Regions from separate parts of the Homo sapiens genome. Here region 2 is linked to region 1. The links are contacts of gene promoters, found by promoter capture Hi-C in blood cells and fetal thymus (Javierre and others, 2016). All regions are on one chromosome and are shown on one strand. Each heading gives the region's core, a stretch centred on a gene start or on the middle of the fragment in contact. The rest is flanking DNA. Distances are from core to core; before and after follow the strand shown. Region 1 holds the start of SELENOK (selenoprotein K). Region 2 holds the start of FHIT (fragile histidine triad diadenosine triphosphatase).

What was found. The method cuts DNA at HindIII sites, captures the fragments that hold promoters and counts their contacts. A CHiCAGO score of 5 or more calls a contact.
Region 2: a contact is called between the fragment with the promoter of FHIT here and the fragment with the promoter of SELENOK in region 1, in 2 of 17 cell types (non-activated CD4 T cells and total B cells). The highest score is 6.4, in non-activated CD4 T cells.

The regions. Positions count from the first base shown.
Region 1 is chr3:53,889,935-53,897,367 of GRCh38, reverse strand. It overlaps SELENOK (selenoprotein K), which reads left to right and starts at 5,509. Exons shown (of 5, transcript NM_021237.5): 1 at 5,509-5,598. The coding sequence starts at 5,580. RefSeq lists enhancers at 5,231-5,530, 5,421-6,321. The HindIII fragment of the contact is 7,183 bases long and covers 1-6,209 here.
Region 2 is chr3:61,246,657-61,253,349 of GRCh38, reverse strand. It overlaps FHIT (fragile histidine triad diadenosine triphosphatase), which reads left to right and starts at 1,898. Exons shown (of 10, transcript NM_002012.4): 1 at 1,898-2,049. LOC124909387 (a long non-coding RNA gene) reads right to left here and starts at 1,758. Exons shown (of 2, transcript XR_007095939.1): 1 at 1,723-1,758. RefSeq lists enhancers at 1,801-2,095, 2,160-2,219, 2,350-2,479, 2,620-2,749, 3,030-3,309. The HindIII fragment of the contact is 4,935 bases long and covers 579-5,513 here.

The DNA.
Region 1 (7,433 bases), core at 4,260-6,759:
GTTATACAATTAGTAAGAAAAATAAAGTGCTCTTGAACTATTAGCAACAGCTTCCCTAGCCACCAGCTGAGGTCACAGCAACCTCCCTAATAGCATCCTCTCAAGCCTAACTAACAATTTTTCCCACAAACAGTAATCACTGGGCCATAAAGAAAGAACTCTTCCCTAAGAGACTATAAAATAAAACTATTTTCATTGAACCTTCCATTAAAAGGACAGAAAGTGTCAAGCCAAATCAACGTTTTATTCATCTGTTTGGTTTTGGAAAGATTAAAAGTGGGATGTTTATTGGCAAAATAAATGTTTTTAAATCATTCACACATTTCGGATTACTAGTAATGATTCTTCCTGTTTATAAGTAATAATGTGTTTTGACAATACCAGGAAAACAGCAATTGTTCTGGAAAATTTGTACATAAATAACAGAATTTTTACAGTTAAAAGCAAAACAGCATTTAATCTAAGACCTAAATTGTCATGTTGATTTGATTAAATACATGTATGAACTTCCACTTCTGCCGTGAAAGATTAAGTAATTTGTACTAACTTTCCTCCTCAGGAAAACTAAAAAAAAAAAAAAAAAAAAAAAAACCTAGACAAAATAATGAGAAAAAAATAACATTTTAAAGGCATTAAAAGAGCTAAAAATGAGTGAGGAATTGCTTGGCCAAGATTCAGAAGATGGAAATTCAGAGAGGTGAATCTGTCATCAAGGCTTCTATTGCCCAAGAGGAATTTGCCAAGCAGTGCTTATGACAGTATCACTAAGCCAGGGAATCAACACTGAGAATCCTGGGTTACAGGAGAAGAAAGGAGACTTGCTCTTCATGGGATATCCCTTTGCATCTTTTGATTTTAATATTATGTACAGGTACCACATTCAAACAAAGGAAGATTCAAGAATCATCAATAATATGCACCAAACCAGTTAGTGAATAAGAATAATAAATTACACATTCCTTAATGTCACATGGCACATATCTATACTCTATTTTTTCAAAATCTAAAGGCTGATGTTATCTTGAGATCTATAATAATAAAATGCACATACTGTTATACTTTGTATACTCCATATTTAGGAATCTAAAGATAGGGCTTAGAAAGTAACACATATTTTGGTACTATGGAATACAATTCTAAAAATATTAAAAATTTGCTTTTAGTGATCAGTCAATGCCCCTAGAAGGCAACTAACACCTAAATCTCTGATGGTTTAACTTTAAAATTCTGGACCAGTATTCCATTCCATCTACCACTATAATGGTTTACATTACAGTTACCAGGGTTGCCAAAAATGGATTATGAGTTAAAAAGTAAGAAATTATCATTGGAATAGTATTTTTCATCCTGTAATAGAACCACAGGTTGAGTCTAGATATTCCTTATTCATTTAAAAATAGGCTATGTGTGTGTGTGTGTGTGTGTGTGTGTGTGTGTGTGTGTGTGTGTACATATACATATATATATATATAATCATACAGGCTCACTAGTGAAACTGATAATGTAATTAACTCAGTGAAATACTTTAGAGACTACAGAGGAAATTTTTAAACTTTTAAGCCAATCAAATTCTCCAAGGATGACTGCAATGTGAATTTTTATAAACATTTTCTCATTTTGATACAGAAAATAAGTTCAGGTAGTTTAAGAAAGTGACTTGTAGAGTTGTACAACCATCACTTCAGCTGAAGTGATGAGGTGATTACTGGTTCAAAAATTGCTGATTTGCACAGCAGGTCCAGTCTGGCTACACAGTTTTACAAAAATTGAAAATTAAAAAGAAAAAGTTGCTGTGAATAGCAACAATAAAGAGTATAAGGTAGAAAAATGAGGCAATTAAAGAGTTAAGGATTCTGAGTCCAGATGAAATAAAGAATGCAAAGGCAATAACTCTAAGAACAAACACATAAAAGGTCAATAAAGAATATAAATGCCATCTGTTTTCATGTTTCCTAACAGTAATATTGAGGACATCTTATTGTTTCTATGTAACCCAGTGTTCCTTCATTATCTCGTGGTAACCACCACCCCTCTCCAACTCTCAAGCCCTCTAGCTTAAGTGGGATTGAGTCAAGCTCCAGCTCCAGAGGTAGCTGTCATTCAGAATGGCCCATCCCACTGGCCAAGGGTTTAGTGCAGAGATATGAAGGTCATCCACTTAGAGATGCTCAGGGAATTTTGCTGGGGAATCTAGAAAAGAAAAACTGGGCAGCTATTTTGCAACTTTGAGAAAGCTGAGATACAGTCAAACAGTCTCCAGAAATCACCTCTCATTCTATACTACAAATACCGTGGTGGATTGTACACTATTTCAATACTTCTGTTATGTGTGGAGATGCAGCATAGCACAGGGGTTAAGAGCACAAACTATAGAGCCTGGCTCTTGATCTTAACCTCAATTCTGCTTCTTATTAACTGTGTGATCTTGGGCAAGACACTTGAGCTCTCTCTCAGTTTCCTCATCTGTAAAATGGGAATAACAGAACTCAGTAGGGTTGAAGTTTAAATGAATGAATACATGAAAAGCAATCAGAACGTTCCCTGGCACAGGGTAAGCACTATACAAATGTTAGCTATTATTATCGTCGTTGTTATGAGGATTAAATGAATAAATGGAAAGTGTTTAGAACAGTGCCTGACACATAGTAACCCTGTATACATATTATCCATTATTAAAACTACCAATTCTTTCATTCACTCAACAAGTATTTATTGAATACCTCTTCTTTGCCAGGCCAATGTCTTCATTCTAGACAAGCAGTATCCAACAGAAATGTAATGTAAACCATGTATGTGAGCCAAGTATGTAATTTTAAATTTTCTAGTAGTCACATAAAAATAAATGAAATTAACAAATAAAATTACTTTTAGTAACATATGTTCTTTAATCTCCAAAATATCATTTCAACATATCAATATTAAAAACAAGATATTTTACAGTCTTCATTTCATTCTAAATCTTTGTGATCTGGTATTTTGTACAGTACATTTCAATTCAGACTAGCCACATTTCAAATATTCAACAGCTACATGTGGCTAGTGGCTAATGCTTAGTTTCAGACATTAAAGGTTAGGGAAAGAGGGGAAATGCTATCTTTGTCCTCTACCACTAACTATATAATTGTAACTAACTATAATTGTAACTAACTATATAATTTTTTTCAATTTTCAAAGTCCTTTCACCTTTGTTATTCGAGAGGAACATGCCTTGCCTTGAAGGATTGATTAGATTTTAGCAGGTGGAGAAAGTTCCTTTCAAGAGGAAACACATGAGCAGAGGCAACAAGGCAGGAAAACAAAGGGTCTACTAGGGAAGTAGAAATCAGAGAGCAAAATCTAAGATGTATCAGGAAAGCCCTTAATGCCAGACCAGGGAGGCTGAATTATGTTTGTCAGGTGGTGGGAAGAAACGGAAGGTCTGTGAATGGGAGAGGCAAGATTGGATTAAACTAACAGGTGAAGATAGCATGAAATGGAGTACGGAGAAACTAGAGGTAGCTCATTAGGAAATCACTGCATTAAATCTCAGGCAAAAATGATCTAGATAAAGGAATGGAAAGGAAGAGATAGCCTCACAATGTCCGATACTCAGGAGATCCCAATGTTAGTTTCTTTCCTCTTTTGGCAATTGGAGAGATTTTAAGCAATTGTCAAAAAATTGTCTAAAAAAATCTCATTCAACCAACCAACAAATATCTGAGCACCTACTACTTGCCAAGAACTATGACAGACCTTGAAGATATAAAAGACAATAAGGCAGACAGGATTCCTGACCTCTTACGTCTTATATTTTCTTGAAGACAAGAGACAAATCAATTATCAGACAGTTTCACAATGTGAATTACTATGAAGAAAATAAACACGGAGATGAGTGGCCAGGGAAGGGCACCCAGAAGTGGTGACAACTAAGCAGAGGGCTAAAGGATAAAATGAGCTGGATGTGCAAGGAGTCCGAGGAAGAGGGTTCCAGGTAGAGGGACAAGTATGGGCAGAGTCCTGGAGGTATCAGTAAAACCCGGGGTGTTCACAAACTAAAACAACAATGTTGCCAGAGCATAATCTGGGTGGGGGTGTTCATAAACTAAAACAACAATGTTGCCAGAGCATAATCTGGGTGGGGAGATGTGGCTGGAAGTACAGTGAGAGGAGCAATCAAGAGGACAAGTCACCTTGGGCCTGCAGGCCATGACAAGGAACTGGATTTTAAGAGCAATAGGAAGTCACTAAATTTTAGTGTCCAAAAGGTTTTAGGCAAGGGAACGAGATGATCTCCGTTTTAAGATCGATCTTGCTACAGTTTGTAAAACTGCCTAAGGATGGTAAAAGACTGAACCTGAGATTTCATTTAGAAGGAAACTAGCGTAGAGCAGGTGAGAGATGATGGTGGCATGGTCTAGATTAAGAAAGGCCCTTGGGAAAATTAACGGCCCTGCCCTAATATTTTTGCAGAAATGATCCTTTATGATTGTGCTGCACAAATCCCAAATGAGGTGAAGGATGTTGTCTTGTCCTATTATGAACTTTTCTGGGGAAAATGCTCTCTCCAAAATCAACATAAAATTAGATCTTTGTCAGTTCTAAGTATTAGAACATAAAATCTTAACCAAAGTTGTTAAACTCAAAATAGATTTTCAGCATGTAATTTTCATTTTCTGGAAGGTGATTAGGAATCTTTCCAAAGAGATGACACATGGCTTGAGAACTGGGGGCGGGAAGTCAAAGGAAGCAGCCATTAGGTCTCCACGCTGAAAGAATAGCTAAGTGCAGAGGCCTTGAGAAGGGAATGAAATGGCCACGTTCAAGGAACAGAGGCAGCCCACTGGCTGTAGCAGAGTAAATATCCATGGTATGTGGTCCACATTTACTGAATGTCCAAGACATGTCTTCTAATTCGTCTGTCACCAAAGTGGTCATAAGCAGTCGCCATCAATAAGAAACAAGCAGAGAAAGGGCCTACAGTTCAATTTATTTTTCAGTTGCCTCACAAAAGGCTAAGAAAAACTTAGTTTCTGGTGAACCCAGGTAGACATGCTCATTTTAAAGAGAATGAATATATCTAGGAAGAGCCTGGCAGTATATTCCCAAAGGCGTGACAATAAAGTTCCTTAACGTGTAGTCAGCACCCTCAAACGTCAACACGTCTGGAAAATTCGGAAGCGTTTCCTCCTGTCAGCGGCCCTTCAAGCTACCTCATACAGGGCAGCCTCTCCTACCCAGACCCGGAGCCTATCAATCGACGAGAAAACAGCTTCCCCTCACTGGGCGGTGCGAACCAACTCTGCACGATCAAGTCGGATAGAGGACTGGCAACCGCGGGCACTACAGGGCAGTCCTTAACGTCATATCCGGTTGTCAGCTCGGCCGCCTCCGCCTAACCAGAAGTCGCAGATGTGACGATGCAAAAACGCCCGTCGGGGGCGCGTCTCTTTCAGCAGCCAATGGGCTCTGCCCACCTTCGTCCTCGTCAGCATTTTGTCTAATCGCGGCCTGTGACGCTCGAAGGGCGGGGAGCAGAGGGAGATACAGAAACCGACAGGGGCCAGGCGCCCGGTGGCTCCGAAGCGGGGAAGTGGGACAAGATGGTTTACATCTCGAACGGTAAGTTGAGAGCGGGCTGTGGCTTCGACCGGTGACTTGTAAGATCGGACTCCAGGTTCCTTTCATCGTCGCTCGCTGAGTCTTGAGCCCGGTGCGGCTTCCCCGGGCTTAGCGCCCCGCGGCCGGGCGGAGCTGGACCGAAGTCGCCTCGGCTTGCGGCGCGTCAGCCGATGGTCTCTGAGCCGGCAGTCGGGGGCCGAGGTCCCGCCGGCCTCACGTTGAGTACTGGGAGCCCTGCAACCCCGCCTTCGTGCAGCAAGCGCTTGATTGTGGATTTGCGAGGGTGGTCTTTCCTCTCTCGGGTGTCGGTATCCTTAAAACTAGTAAGGACAATGATGCCGACGCTGTACACGTAGCGCTTGTGCCCTGGACAGTGTTTCAGTTATTTGCTTATCGTCACATTCAATCCTGTTTTACGGGTGGAAACTCTGAGGCTCAGATAGATTAAATAGCTTGCCTGGGCTATTTAAGTCACAGAGGTAACTTAATGGCTGAGTCGGGATTCGATCACAGGTAGGCTGACGTCAGCGTCCTTGTTATCTGTTATGCTGCCTCTGTCTACAACGTGTAAAAAGACCGAGCCGACCTAGGATGATAATTAGATGAAAGCTTTGCATAGGCTTTTTCCCCAGGAAAGGGTAGCTAGTCAAACATGGAATTTTTTGCTCGAATTTCAAGGGGCATGGGAAGAAGTACTATCTTCCCCTAGGAGCAAGTTAATTATTACCGGAATGGAGAATCCGAGAGACTTAATTCTGCGAACCCACAAAGAAGATGACCGGAAAGGAAGGACATGACTGTGTCAGATCAGTGCTAGAGCTGCCTGCCCACCTGTTTGACTCAGGTGAAATTCTTTGGTACAGTCTTAACAAGGAGTTGTGGATCATTGGAACTAGGTCTTGGTTCTATTTGAGTCATCTGTTTTTCTCCAGAGACGAGTAAGGTAGTCAGTGAGGAGCCTTCTGGCTGACTGCACTTTTGCATTTCTTGACTTTTAAAAATCTCCCCTTCTCATCTCCCACTTAAAAATCTTTGAAACAAGTAGATTGATGGACACTACAGAAAAGCATCAAAATTTCATCTTAGTTTTGGGCGCTTTCAGACTTTAGTCTGTTTTATAGCCTGTTTTATAGCCTTTGTGATATAAGCTTAAGGCTGGAAGCTTCTGTATGAATTATTGAATAATTCCTTGTATTTGTTGTGTCTTACTGTGTTCGCATTATTTCATTTGGTCCACATAAGTAGCCGATTAGGACTCTTTATCGTACTTTAAAAGTTGAGAAACACAACTGCATTCAAACACCTTACTTCTCTCTGGGGATATTGGTGGAAGGGACATTCTGCCTTAAGAAAGGGAAAGTGGAAAAGCAAGATAGAATCACAGAGGAAGAAATGACAGGTTCCAATTAGATCCACCTTCTTAGGACTGTATTATCAGCACTTGACAAAATCTTTCTCTTGCTGTCAGATGACTTTTTTTTTTCCAAAAATCTTATGTGATGGCTAGCCCTGGAATACTTTTTGTTGGAGAAAGAAAATGTCACATCAGCCAACGAAGCAGAGCTAGTAAGAGGCAGAGAACTAAGCCTGTCACCCACCCTCTAAACTTTTGTAGCCCCTTGCTCTCAGTAGCACAGTGAGAGCTTAGATCCAAGTGGGTATCTGAAATTAAGCTGGTCAAGAAAAGAGGAAAAGTAAACCCTCATGGAGTGGGTAGAGGTGAGTGGGGTTAACTCTTGGGATAATGGAAAGGAGAGGTAGTTGACAGTTACTCTTCCCCGAAAATATTCTGACATCTTGATTTGCAAGGCTGAAATATAGTGTACCAACTTATG
Region 2 (6,693 bases), core at 649-3,148, 7.4 Mb before region 1:
CCTTGAGCCCAGCAGTCAGCATTATCCACAGCTGAAGTAATACCTATGTGCTCATATTAGGCTATCTGACAACAGTGCAATAATCATTAGACACCACTGTTTAGACCCTGAGTATGTTCATGACATTTGCCTTTTGACTGCTAAGTAGAAGATGTAATGATTATAGGCTGATGCTTTCTCAGGAGGAGGAAAGTTATTGAGCTTTACAGTTTCAAATGCTTCTGATTTTCTTCCACGTTTAGTCTGGCTGCTGACACATGTGTTGAAATCTCTCATGTCGATCAGCTTGAGAATAGCTGGGACTGCTGAGCTAAGTCTGTGCTCATAAAAGCAACAAAGAATTGTATTACAGGAAATGACCCCAAATTGACAGAAGATTAGGCTAGGAAGCCTGAACAGGTGTTTTAATCTCTATGCACAAAATCAGTCTGTACATATATTGCTCACATTCCTGCTGTTTTAACTATATTTTTTTTTTCAATTTCACTTTGTTATTCACAATTTGATAATATTTTATGTGGCCATGGTGTCTGTGTGATGAACTATAATCCAATGTGACATTCTCTGAGAGTCAAGCTTCCAAGGACATCAGATTTTCACACCAGGACACTTTGTAGGACACCTTGCTACTCTCCATGGGATTCAAATATTAGAAATAATGAGAGATCTAAGACTTGATGTAATTGCCTGCATGTAATGAATCAGGCCAAATAAAAAAGTGAGAGACAGAGAAAGGAAATGGTGCTAAGGAAAATGGGGACCTATCTTAGTGTTTGTCTGAGAGAAAACTGCTCTTTGTTTTTCCCGATGTAATGGCAAGAGTCTGCAGCCAGGAATCTAGTCCTTGCTTAGGAGCTGCATGACCTTGTGAAAATTACGTAGGTGTTCTGCAATTTGTAATTGCATTTATTGTAAAATTAATTTTACTTTTCATACGTCACTAGACAGAGCATTTTGAGGTTAGGAATTGGGTCTGAATCAATGATTTCTCCAGCACCCACATGGCATTTGGCACAGAATACATCAATAATGATTTTGGATTAAACAGGGGAACAAGCACAAGGAACCATGGTGGTCAGAAACGGGTTGATCTGCACCAGAGAAAGGGAGACTAGGGGAGAAAGGTCACTCTAGATTTCGTTCAATTATTGAAAATACGGTGTATTTACTATGTGCTGGGCACTTTTCTAGGTGCTAGAAAGACTACAGTGACCAAAACAAAAATCCACATCTGCAGGGATCTTGCATTCTAGTGAGAAAGTAAGATGGTAAAAAAGATAAATACGTAAATTTTATACAATGCTTCGTAACGACAAATGCTAAGGAGAAAAACAGCACAGAAAAGACAGAAAGGAAAAGAGAAGGGGCGCATGTGGTGCAATTTTGTTAGGATGCCAGGGAGGGCTGAGCGTAGTCGTAAATGACCACATTATTTGATGGATCAAGCCAGGGACTGCAAGTCTGTGTTTCTGAGAGACACATAAAGAAAAGAAGGCTTAAGGAATCCAGAAAGATCCAGAGTGGGGAAATGAAACGAAAAGAAATCCAGCCAGTGGGAAGTCGTGAAGGGATAGTTAAACGCGTTTTGGGAGGAAAGAAAAAAGCAAAAGTGCGGTACAGCCTTTCGTTACACGTGAAAAGAATCATGTTTCTTTTTCTAGTTAGAAAAAGCCAAAGATTGTGCGATTTATGCCCCAAACCCCCTTGTAAGGGGATTCTCACCTCAACTTGTCTTCTGTGGTCAGTGTTTCCCGCCCCTGAATCAGGGTTACTGTCACTATGGCTTTCAATTGGCCCGGCGTAGGCGCATGCTCTGCGCGTATTGGCCTCCGCTCCTGTCCCCAGACAAGCGGCCATCTTGGGTCCCGCCCCTACCGTGGGGTCTTCTGGGAATTGCAGTCCCCGCTCTGCTCTGTCCGGTCACAGGACTTTTTGCCCTCTGTTCCCGGGTCCCTCAGGCGGCCACCCAGTGGGCACACTCCCAGGCGGCGCTCCGGCCCCGCGCTCCCTCCCTCTGCCTTTCATTCCCAGCTGTCAACATCCTGGAAGGTAGGGGCGGGGAGGCAAGCCCAAGTGGAATACTGTTTCTGGGGCGCGGGTCTGGGTTTCCACGCGCGTCAGGTCATCACCCCGGAGCCCAGTGGGGCCGGCGCCGCTCACGGGGCGGTGGGCTTCTGTCCCGAGTACTCTTCCGCCCCACGAGGGTCTCAGGGTGGGGACTCGGGCCCCCCAATTCCCAAGCACCGACCCTAGCCCTAACCCGTTCCTCCTCCACCGTGTTTATACATTGGGGAAACTGAGGCACGGGGCCACGCCAGCGGGTCCGGGGACGCCACAGCTCTTGGCTCTGGGGGTGTAGTCGGCACCCGCCGTTTTGGGATGGTTCGTCAGTTTCATAGACAAGTAGCGAAAATCCGTCCCAACAGGTCTGTGTTAAACACGCAGCTCTGGATTCCCCTAAGGGGTTGCTGAACACGTGCCCAGGACAGGAGCAAACCGGAGTATAGAGAAGGCAGCATTTTGGGAGATAATTTTACATTACTACTTCAAAAACAGGCAAAGAGGCATCGAATTTATTGTTGTGGGAGAACTCATCGGTACTTGGTCGGACTTTCTTACACTTATTTTATGGTTGTTGTTTTTATTTTTAGCGTCAAAGGGGGGAATTTTAAAGGTATATCCAAGTTGGTGGTGGTGGGGGGTAAGGAGGCAGGTTAGTGGAACTTGAGATGCATCTGCAGATTTCTCTGTAGGCTCACATTCTGCCCTCGCTGTGTTACCTTGGAACAGCCACTCACAGCGCTTATCTGGGAAACAAGGAGCTCAATGCTCCCAGGTCAAGTGGCCAAAGGATGTTGCCTGAAGCCGAAATCTAAATTGAGGTTATGCTTGTGAAAGTTTACCACTTGCAGATTTACTGCTATTATTATTCTGGTCTCTCAGAAATGTGCTGGGACCAATAGAAAATACTCACAGTGGTTGTTTTAGTAAGGTTCTGACCTGGGCCGGGCCCAGACTACCAAGGGTGGTCCCTACTCGCACCTGATGTTAAGCCGGATCTACCTGAACTCTCCCTCCTTGGCTTCAGCCTGCGGCCTGAGGCCTTGGCCGCGGAGGCTTCTGGGAGTTGCAGTCCCGCCTCTTGTTTCTCGTCGGGCAGGTACTCCACCTCGTGGCGTGCCATTTTGCACGGCGAGATGTCTCCTGGGAGACGAAGTCTCGCTTCTAGCCGTTCTGTAGAGCAGCCGCTTGACTCGGAACTACAACTCCCATGTGGACCTGCGTTCATGGCTGCCGGCCTGTGTCCACCTGCTGCAACCTGGACTAGAAATATTTAGTAAAGAAAGAAGTCTAGGGTTTGTGTGTGTGTGTGTGTGTGTGTGTGTGTGTGTGTGTGTGTGTGTGTGTGTGTGTGTTGTTATTGATTGCATATGCTGTTCTAAGTGTTAGATATGGGATTGTTGTATACGGTGTTCCAAGTATTAACGTACATGCTTCCAAAACCACTAACACTTGACCATTTAGAACCTGTTCACATGATCTCTTTTTAATACTACATTTCCCATTTGTATATGAGAAAAAACTTGAGAAGATAGCCCATGATTACACAGCTAGCAATATAATATATATTCAATAAAATATATGTGTTATAATTTAATCCTCTTAAAAGCTATATGAGAGTGAGAACCATTTTTATATCAACTTTACAGATTAGAAAACTAAGGCTAGGAAAGTTAAGTAACTTGTTCAAGTTAAAACACTGGTGAATAAAAGGACTGAGACTGTAAGCCCTTCTGCTTAACAGTCTCTGCTTAGAGAAAGACCTTACCTTACAGAGCTGAGGAGGAGTCCAACCTTTCTGGCTACAGAATTTGGAATCTTTTAATTATACCATGCTGCCTCTGTACTTAGATACTAAACATTTGAGCTGCAAAAACCTTTGAGATCATTTAATTCTAATGCAAAGATCTTGGAACACTTCTTGGCCTATAATAAAGATTCCATATATATATGTATATAGTTTTAGAATACCTTTATTTTAGAGATTAGGAAACTGGCCCAGGTGGTAAAGCAGTTTGCCCAAGGTCACACAGTTGGTTTGTGTCAGAGATTAGACTAGAACCAAGCATCTTATTTTCAAGTCCAGGGTTATTTTCATTCCACCAGCAGTCAGCTAGCAGGAACACCAGATGTGTAGCTCTTTAGATAATGGTTTCTCCTCTAATTTGCTCTTTCAAGGCCACAGACCAGGACCAATTGTTATAAATTATCTTATTTATTATTGGTAAGGTTGTAATACTTCATGAATTCAACAAATGTTTTTTGAGCTTCTTTATATGGTCATCTCTCTTAAGGTGCAAGGACCACATAGATGATAAGGACTTAATGCATTCAGACTGGAAGGACCTTATAAATAATCTAATCTAACTCTTATTTTATAAATGAGGAGAGTGTGTTACGAAGTAGTCTGCAATCTTCATCTCATGCCCTCATGTCAAAAGTATCCCGTTTCTGCAAGAAGGCAGGTTTCTGGAGTCCTCACAGTAGTGTGGATAACCTTTTTAGGCTTATGCTTTTCTATTTGGTATCCTTGTCTTGGCCTTTTTCCTGCAGCCTTTGATAGAATGCTTTAGGAAATGTTTTTGTGTCCCCATCTTTATTTGTGTGTTTATGCAACTTCAACATGCTCTGTTTCTATTTTGGAAGTTAGTCTGGTTTTGGCTCCCATTACTCTTTTCTCTTTTGTTCTTTCAGACACTTGAGAACAAATTCTGACACTATGTTTGCATTCACATGTTAAAATCTGACCCTCTAATATGAACTCTCAGAAATCTATCAAGTTGTGACTTTCATTTTGGAAGACATATTGGCCCTTTCAATTATGTATTCACAGATAATAAGGCAGGTAACTCTGGTCTCTTCTGAAAGATGATTTCCATATAGTTAGGTAATAAAGTAACAGTTTTATGAATTATTGGCTAAACATTCCTGAAACAGTCTATTTGAGAAGTTCTCCTCATCACCCCCATGCCCCCACCCCCACGCTCTCCCAACTGATAGTCTGATCATTCAGCTTCCACCACAGTGCCTGACCACCAGTAGACACTGAAAAAGTACTTGTGGCATTGCATTCATAAGCACCCTGTTCCCACATCTCTTCATTGAATCTGTTTACTCTTTTAATGCAGAAGTGCAGCTTTGAAATATAAGATGTAGGAGGTTACTTTGCTTTCAACATGTACATTGCAGAGAAAAATCTCAGCCTTTGAGATCATTCTCCAAGGGGTTGTCTCTTTGGGAATGTCCATATCTGTGACTTCTCAGATGAGAAAGTGATCTATATAGTAAGACATAGCAGAGAAGCAGTAGAGGGGTTGTCTGGGGACCCATGATTTAATTCCCAGCTGTGCCTTTTAGACAGGTTACTTAGCCCTTGGTTTTCTCTCTTAAAATAGGGATAATAAGCATTTCTACCTCACAGTGATGATGAAGAAGAAAGTGTGTTTAAAGCTTTGAGCATGTTGTCAGGCTCTTAACAGCTTGCAGTCAATAGATAAATATAATAGCTCTTATTTTTGTTATTGTAAGCCTGATATATGAAAATTCACATTTCCTCAAGATTTAAAACTTTAAGCAGGTATTTATATTATAAAAGGATTTGTTTGCCACTTGTTTTCTTAGAGTAGCACACTTGGTCATCACATTTAAAATATGAAGTTCCTCACAACTCTTGATAACCTGTCTTGTCAGCACAGTGACACTCTCTTGTGTGGGCAGAGAGACAGTGAAGCTTTTGGCTCGGTACTGCCTGCTGAGAGGCCCCTGATCTATGGTTCCACCTATATATTAAATCCTTGATTTAAAAGCAGCCTGTTTCTGTCAGTGGGGCCTTCTGTCCATCTCTAGAAAGGATTGGTCCTATCCCAGGAGGCTCAGGGTTAGAGTGAGGCAGTTGTCATCCAGCTGGTGAGTAATCCTGGGGCAATGACCGTGGGGATGTGGCAGTGCTTCTTTCTAAAGCTGACAACTTCAATAGCCATGAGGTTACGATAAGGAGGTGAGTTACTGAAAAGAAGTGATGCAGGGAACAGGGAAGGAGCAACAGGAATGAGGATCACAGCAACAGCAGAGGAGAAGGACAAAGGAAACAGCGGAGGCCCTCAGTATCCTAAACATATTTTTATTCAGCACATTTATCTTGCTCCTAGCTCTGTTCCAGGCACTGCATCTGCTCTGGTGAGAGCAGTAAATGGGGCTGGTAGGGAGGCACTGATGGGGTGAGTGAGGGTATATTCTCGGCAGGGAAGAACCTAGTACAATGGAGGACAGGAGGGAGGGAGGGAGGGGATGTTGGGATTTGATGAGCAGAAAGAAGGTCTGTGTGCTTAGGGTATGAAAATCAATGGCTGGAGGAGGTGGAGAGAATAAGGCTGCAGAGGTGAGCCTGAGTAATAGATATGTTTTTCTTTTTTTAAATTTTTTTAAAATTTTACTTTAAGTTCTGGGATACATGTACAGAATGTACAGGTTTGTTAATAGGTATACATGTGCCGTGGTGGTTTGCTGCACCTGTCAATCTGTCATCTAGGTTTTAAGCCCTGCATGCATTAGGTATTTGTCCTAATGCTCTCCCTCCCCTTCCCCCTCTACCCCACAACAGGCCCCGGTGTGTGATGTTCCCCTCCCTGTGTC